Regions from separate parts of the Homo sapiens genome. Here region 2 is linked to region 1. The links are contacts of gene promoters, found by promoter capture Hi-C in human tissues and cell types (Jung and others, 2019). All regions are on one chromosome and are shown on one strand. Each heading gives the region's core, a stretch centred on a gene start or on the middle of the fragment in contact. The rest is flanking DNA. Distances are from core to core; before and after follow the strand shown. Region 1 holds the start of ACVR1C (activin A receptor type 1C). Region 2 overlaps PKP4 (plakophilin 4).

Region 1 (3,848 bases), core at 1,149-3,648:
CAGATCCAGATGAAAGGTGGTGCCTTCTGTCACACAGTTTCACTGACTATGTCATTACATCAAGAACAACTTCTCATATAACATTCCAACAACAGCAAGTACATGTCATAAATGGCCAATATGATTAACAGTATAATTTGTAAAAGTGACCAGGTAAAAATACAGTTGGCTAACCATGTCATAAAACCAATTGAAAAAGTGAAAAGCAAAACAAAACTACCTTGAATCTTTCTACTAAATAGCCAGAGTTTTATATAAAGTTAAGAATAAATACTATAAGTAGCAATATACATTGTTAACGTGGGACACAGAGGGGTAAAAACTTCTTAAGGAGATTTGAAAATGATTGCACTTGACATAGAAAAGTTTTTCATAAAAGTTCAGCTTCAATAAATACATCTCTACTATATTATTCCATATCATGCATTTTTCTTAGACTTCAAATTTTAAGTGAGCGACTTTGAATGGATTATCTTTTTTTTATTTTTTGCATATTTCAATGTCAAAAGTTTCCATGCCTTTTCAAGAACATGAGGCATGTTGCTATGCTCAAGGTCTCTGAAATTTTCTAAAGATTCTGGGTATACAACAAAATATACCCTTGAAGCTACATTTTAAAAAAATTGAATCTGTTTTGTAGAAATGTGTGCAGCCAAGTTATCAGCTCCTCCAAATAAAAAGAGTTGTACAGACAGCCTCCAGAGGCAGTTTCACCCCATCAAAACTGTGATACCTTGAAGACTTTTTTTTGTAAACTCTATTAAATTGTCAAGAGCACTTTCAGTATCCCAAGTTAGCAGAGTTTTCACCCATTTTTTAAAGACTTTCCCATAGTTGGTTTTCTCCCACTTATAAATTTATTAACTCTAAATGCAAATATTTCACTTTATCCCATCATCTTTCCGACAGTCTTGGGCTGTTTTCCTAAAAGATAACTGGAATGTTTTAATCCTCAGATTTTGTCAATTAATCCTTTTCAATAATCAAATTTATATTTGAATATTGTATTTAGTGATTCTCTCAGGCCATCTGAAACACTGAAATCTGTACATGACAGCAATCATATCATTCAAATCATTCTCTTGCACATGTCACTAAGAGGAAAACGACCCACCATGAATATAGCTATTAATGTCAAACAGATTGTCATCTGGGAAAACAAAATGCATCAAAATCAGCTTCGGACAAAACACAGCTCTATGGGAAAACACCAGATTTTTATGTGCAAATGTCTTCAATGTCTGATAGAAATTTTTAAAGAATGAGTTAGCAAAGAATCTGCTCCTCCTCTGCATAATCCAGGACAATGTAATGAAAATAGTTTTCGAGGTAAAGGGCTTTTAGTCACAGCATATTATGATTTTACCAAAGATGCATTTGCCCCACTTTCTAGTAAACATTATAAAGAAACGTCTGGCTTCTAGATTGGGTAGAGGGCTCTATTTAGCCTATCAAGGCACAGACCTGTTATAAACTCTGGGGCGCTTGCCAGAATTTTTTTCCCCAGGAACTCTGAGTAAAGATCGTACCTCGAAAGCAATGTGCGTTGCAAACCACACAGATTTAAGCTCCCACTCTCGCCTCCATAGCTTGGCATCTGCGGCTTTTGGGGTATTCCCCGCCTCCTAAAACTCAGACTAAATCACCACCTCCCACCACCACCATGCCACCATCCTTGAGCAGCTCTCAGGGGCTTAGCACAGAGCGCGTCCGACGCATACCTGCAGCCCTCCAGGTCCCTGCAGGGTGAACCCAGCTCCCAGCCATGCGCGCACCCACAAACGCTCTCCTATTTTCTCCGCTGCAAACTGCCCACAAATTAGTCACCCACCTCACCCCTACTACTTATTCCCCCACGTCCCTGCTGCCTTTTCCCTCTTCCGGGCGGCTTCGTCCCCAACACACCTGTCTACCCCTACGGCTGCCAGACGTCAGGTGCCCACGCTGCACCCTATCCCGCGCCCCCTCAATCCGACTGGCGCTTCCCTGTCCGCCCCGAAGGTCAGTTTGCTCGGAGCACCCCCTGTCCCCCACCCCCGTGCTCACCCGCAGACCTCCTCCCAGCTCCCACCCTCGCGGGCGTCGGGAGAGAAACCAGCACCGTACCTGGCGAGAGCTCGGCGGCCGCTGCGAGCAGCAGGAGAGCCTGGCGGAGCGCTGAGCAGAGCGCCCGGGTCATCGCCACCAGGCGGCCGCGCCGGGGCTGCGAGGCCCCAGAGCAGAGCGAGGCAGCCGGGGCAGCACGGCCCGCTTTGAAGTTCCCGGGCCGCGGGAGGGGAGCGCGGCACCGACACCCTTTTGAAGTGCGCGGTTGGCTCTAGTCAGTGTGGGCGCCCCCCTCCCCGGCCGCCCCCATCCCACGCCCCCTGCGGCTGGCGGTGCGCGGCGCTCCTGCCACTGGCCCCGCAGCCGGGCGGGGAGCGGGTGGTGGGGCGGGCGGCAGAGCCCGCCCCTGCCGCGCCTCCGCCCCCTGCGCCCTCTCGCAGCCGCCCGGGCCTGCTGCTGCAGGGCAGGCAGGCAAAGGCGGCCCTGTGCCCGGCAGTGAGATCGCCCAGAGCTGGGGCGAAGAAAGAGGGGGCGTGGGGAAGCAGTGCGGAGCCTCCGGGACTAGATACTCAGGAATGGGGCTTCTCACGGGAGGAAAAGCCCCACTGAGACTTTAGGGAAACTTCAACTACGCGGCGATTGCGCCCAGGTGATCCGCTCTATAACCTCCCGCAGAAGAGCCAGCCTCCTAGCTCTCCTGACGTTTGTTGTCCAGGGTCCTTAAGTCCAACCAGGTTGCGCTGTGAGAGCCCCGCGGGCTTCCTACTGGCTTGTCCCACCCCTGCGTCCTGGCCATTTGTGCCTCTGGGGAAGGGCGCCCTCTCTGTTCATCCCTGGAAATGACCAGTTGTCCGACTGCCTTCTGGACCTATAAGCTTTGGTTTAACAAACTTCATCTCTTCTTGGGTGCCTTTTGGGAACCCTTCCCTCTATGAATGGCGACCAAAGCTGGACCACCTGCGCCAGGTGATGTGGCCATCTACAATGTGTGACCCACGTCTGGTGGTAAAAGACCTCACCTATGGAAGATAATTTCGGCAGCTACAACTTCAGCAATTGAAGAACTAAGGGAACATACACACACACACACACACACACACACACACACACACACACACACGGATTAAGGGAAGGGGAAGAATTGTTTAAAGTAGTATATGAAAAACTTGTTTGAGTATTGTTTAATCCCTAGAGGCTAACTGTCAAACGGGTGCCTGAAAATATAAGGCCTGGATTGTGCCTGAAAATATAAGGACAACGGCAACATTACCAATTTATAGAAATTAAATTCAATTCACCTATGGAGCCTGAACATTAAAGTGAATGGGATTATTTCAATCTGAACAACGCGAAAAAGCAAGAATACAATACTGGTGTTATTACTACTGTTGGGGGTTCCTTGAAAAGTGATAGCGTCATAAAAATTGCTTTAGAGTAAAACATTTCTTGCTTCTTCACCTAGCTCAGGACTAAATTATATGCTAGGTGTTCTAAGTTCTATGAAAGACCTATGGTGAAATGTTGTATGTAATTGACTTTATTATCAAAGGATCACAGTATGGGAGATGAGATGGTTGTTGGACTTTGAGATGTGGGTGGCATCCTGAGGATCTTTTCTGCCACCATCTTATATTCCTAAGCACAAAAAAACTTTGTTCTTGTTTTATCCTGGATCCAAACAAACAAAAAACTGGAGATGTGGGACAAATCTGAGCCCTTTCAGACACCCACAAAACAGATGCTTTTTTAAAAAGGCAAGAAACTGCTAGGACACATTATATTTTGTCTGGTTTGGCTTGCTA
Region 2 (4,315 bases), core at 685-3,184, 840 kb after region 1:
TTATGGATTTCAACAGGATATTTCAGAGAAGAAATAAACTGCTGAACAGAAACCATTGTGAGCTTGATAGTTTGCAGGACATTGTAGAAAAGAGAATCCAGCACAGTAATTAAGGGCCTTTTTAAGTAGGGAAGTTGTAGCTTCTTGCGGTAGGCAATACTTAGAGAGGCATTAACCACCGCTAGCCAACAAGTATAGGAGAATGTATACAATTATTGCGTTTGTAATCCCAGGTAGTAGTCATTTTATAAAATGTCTTTGCTAGTCAGTACATGAATAAAGCGTTAGAAAGTGTTCATCATTTAACACCATTTGCCCAAATGCAGCTTGTAAATTAACTCTTTAAGCTGGCTTTTCTGTCTGAAAGTGATCACAGTTGAAAAAAAAAAAAAAAAGGATATTTGAAATCAGCAGGAGACTCCCAAATCAAGAAAGGCTAGAAAAGAGGAAGGGGGTTTGGAATATACATGATATAAATCAACAGACAGTGGTTAAATAGATATCAAGAGGCTCTAGTTCTAGTCCTGGCTTTGCCACTATGCAGGTGTGTGTCCCATGAGCACATCATGTAACTCTCGTGGGCTTTAGTTTTCTTGTCTATAAAATGAGGGAGTTGGTCTAGATGCTCTCTAGAGTCCCTCTAGTACTTACATTTCGCAACTCTTAGAACATCAAGCCATTACATTTTTTCCTCAGCAAGAATATGCTGTCTTCCCAAGGATTTATGACAATTTACCCTCTGGGATAAGGAGGGAAAATTGAAGTTGTATACTTGAAATTCTCAGCTCCTGAAAATATGTGTCGCAGCCAGACAAACCTGTGACCCCTCTGTGGCTGAGTCAGTGGCTCCGTGTCTTGTGCGGTAGTGGTGAAGTGCTCCAGGAGTGAGGATCCCTGGGGCCCCTCGGGGCAGGAGCTGAGCAGTGAGCCTTTATGGAGCTGCACATCTGCAGTTTGTCACAGCCCTGACTTCTGGGACTTACTTGTCTACAACCAGTCCCCTGTGCACATTGGAGGCTTCACCTCTGATTGAGACTACATTTTTCAGAAGTTGGATAGAAACAAGAAAGGGGATTTAGCATGGTGGTTAGAAGGGACTAGTCTTGTTACAGTGAGAAAGATCCACTTCTTACTTGCTCAGATGGTTTGATTTGTCCTCAGAGAAGTTAAACAACTGACAGAGTTGCTCCTCTGAAAACATTTTGTATGAATACTTTAGGTTCATAGGGAACTCGTCAATCCATATCTCATAGAATAGAGGGACTTTTCATTCAAGTCTAATTTTTACATATAGACAATCTACCAGTGTTCAGAAATTGTGGCAGATTTCATGAGGAGAATTTTTTACTTGGATTTGTGCTCTTCTATAAAAAGTAATTTAAAAATTCAGTGATGAAAGTTTCTCCTAGACCCTGTTCTCTTCCTTTGTGGAGAAAAAAAATCCGTATAGAACTCTAGTATGTATTTATCTATAAAACAATTGTTTAAAAATATTGAGGTTAGCTCTTCCCCTTTGCTAATGCAATAAGCACATTATTTGCAAAGGGAAGCATTAATTATACTACTATTGTATGCAGTATTAAATGAATTGTCAATGTCACGATCAAAATAAACCCTTGAAGAACTGGCTGTTGTTCCCATACCTTCATGAGAATTGTAAACACTCATGTAAAATAGAAACCATTATTTACCACTTTGCAGTGAAATGGATCATGTGTTCTGACACCTGTACCCTGAGTTGAGTGGGAAACAGGGACTGTTTGATGAATTAAAGGTAACTTTATTCCTGTATACCACTAGGGGTGCAAGTGAGGGGACTGTAGACAATTAGTACTTTAGATATTTGTTGGAGTCCTGCTGTGTGTGCAGTATTGTGTTTCATTTTGCATACTTATTTAAAACGATACTACTTATTTGAAATGATTCATTTTAGTTCATTTTAACCAACATTTTTTAGTCCCCTACTCCATATCAGACTGATAGGCCTTATGGCCAAAAAGATGACTTCCTCCAGGGATACTTACTGTCTGTGTTAGATTCAGTAATGGGAGTCTCGGTCTTTAAGGAATCCATGATACATTTTTCAGTCTGGTTGGGAAAGATAAGACACATGAGGTAGAGAAGATTGTCCTAGAAATGTTGGTATATAAATAAGCATGTAACATTGTTTCATAAGTATTAAGGATGAGCTATAAAATAACTAGGTTGTAGCTCATACTTCTACTTGCTTAATTGTGTATTACATGATAAATTACCCGATTCTAGAGATATGCACTAACCACTCTCATTAGCTTTCTTTGGGAAAAGTCTGCACCAAAGATAAATAGTGATTTCAAAATAAGTTTTAATCATGAACTTGATTATTTTGGCTGTATCTCTTGAAACACTTTACCATATAGCCTATGTGAAATAATTAATCATAATGACAATACATGATTTATGAGAAACCATAATTTATGCTGTAAGACCTGCCATTTTATTACATTCTTATTTTTATTTTTCATGCAGCAGTATTTTCGTTTATTGTGTTTTGTGCTTTTCTTTTATTCTCTATGTAATTTGTGTGCCTTTATAAGCCCAAACTTGCTGTTGAAAATATTCCCTCCCATTGTTATGAATAAACAGAATGTTTCAAAATCTCTCGTGATGTATGCTAGAATAAATGGTCTCATTGAATCTTACTTTGAATCTCAGAATGATGCACTGATGGGAATTTTTCACTTACTGTCATTTTGTCGACAACTACATAAGCAGTAAGTCTGTTTAAAAAAGGCACTGACTAAGGAATCACAAAATCCAACTGGACTTCACAAGAACTATTAATACTATTAGTCTGAGACCTGTGATAAACAACTCAGATGTTAAAGGTCTAATTCAGACTGTCAACAGATGAAAAATAAGTGTCAGTCTGAAATCTTCGGATAGTATATCGGCAAGTGTCAGTCTTCCAAAATATTATTTAGAACTGTGAATATAATTTTTCACAGAAGCAACATTAATCCATAAATCTCCCGTCCTGTAGTGTAACTATAGTATATCAGTTCCATGGGAAAATAGTCCTGCTCTAAGCTACTCAACAGCAGGGACTTTATCTTTCTACAGGACTTAAATCTTGACCTCCAGTGGTTCTACATACCTTAAGTGAATGAATGAGTTTGAATTCTAGTTTTGAACACCTTCACCTGCTACTCTTGGATAATCGTGTCTGTTTGTGCCTAGTACCTATCCTCTGTCCTTTTGTAAACTGGTCTGAGACCCTGATACCATTTATCCTGCATGTTTCAAAGGAAAAAACTATTTAGACTTTAAAAAAATGCTTTTCTAATACAACTTGCTAGATAAATAATTCATTATACCAAATTCCTTAGTAAAGAAATTAACGGCTGGGTGCAGTGGCTCACACCTGTAATCCCAGCACTTTGGGAGGCTGAGGCAGGTGGATCACTTGAGATTAGGAGTTCAAGACCAGCCTGGACAACATGGTGAAACCCCATCTCTACTAAAAATACAAAAAAAAAAAAATTAGCCAGGCGTGGTGGCGGGCGCCTGTAGTCCCAGCTACTTGGGAGGCTGAGGTGAGAGAATCACGTGAACCCGTGAGGCAGAGGTTGCAGTGGGCAGAGATTGCACCACTGCACTCCAGCCTGGGTGACAGAGCGAAACTCCATTTCAAAAAGAAATTAATTAGAAGATTTTAAACAGATTGGTTCATATTCATTTTAAACTTAATTGCCTGGATTATAACCATAGTGAGATGAGTTTTCATAATGCTCTTTATCATACTACTAATAGGCACCAATCAAGCACCAAGACTAAGCTAAGCTTTGAAAGTGTGATATTGAGCAAACTTTCTGTATCTGTACCTTTTGTGAATCAGTAATATCTTTGTATACTCAGTTGAAGAGTTAAGACAGAAGTAGATATAATTTAAAGCACATGAAGTTTTTCAAAGGGGAAATGTTACAAAAATGCTAAGGGTTATTGGTACTATAAAATTACATAAATGTTAAGAGTAATGAAACAAAATTTCATAGCTTGTTTTGACCTAGTTGGTATAGTAAGTAAACCTTTGTTTGGTCTTAATATAGTAGATAGAAATATTCTTATACATTTTGGTTGTCCCTTTCCCAACCTCACATAATCACTGTAATAAAATTTACAGAAGGAAAGATCCTGTGTACCCTTTATATTGTTTTCCCCAGTGGTAACATCTTGAAAACTATATTACAATGTCACAACCAGGATATTAACATTGATGTAATCAAGATACACAACATTTCCATCACCACAACGCTCATCTCTCCTACTCTCATCG

Evidence for each region. The method cuts DNA at HindIII sites, captures the fragments that hold promoters and counts their contacts. A contact is called where the count stands out against the background at its distance.
Region 2: a fragment that was not itself captured here is called in contact with the fragment with the promoter of ACVR1C in region 1 in 1 of the 25 tissues and cell types used here (hippocampus).

The regions. Positions count from the first base shown.
Region 1 is chr2:157,626,466-157,630,313 of GRCh38, forward strand. ACVR1C (activin A receptor type 1C) reads right to left here and starts at 2,399. Exons shown (of 9, transcript NM_145259.3): 1 at 2,107-2,399. The coding sequence starts at 2,179. RefSeq lists a silencer at 2,114-2,343. The HindIII fragment of the contact is 14,203 bases long and covers 1-3,689 here.
Region 2 is chr2:158,463,034-158,467,348 of GRCh38, forward strand. The region is part of intron 1 of PKP4 (plakophilin 4); the gene reads left to right. Among named protein-coding and RNA genes, the nearest start is that of PKP4, 8.2 kb to the left of the region's middle. The HindIII fragment of the contact is 6,532 bases long and covers 1-4,315 here.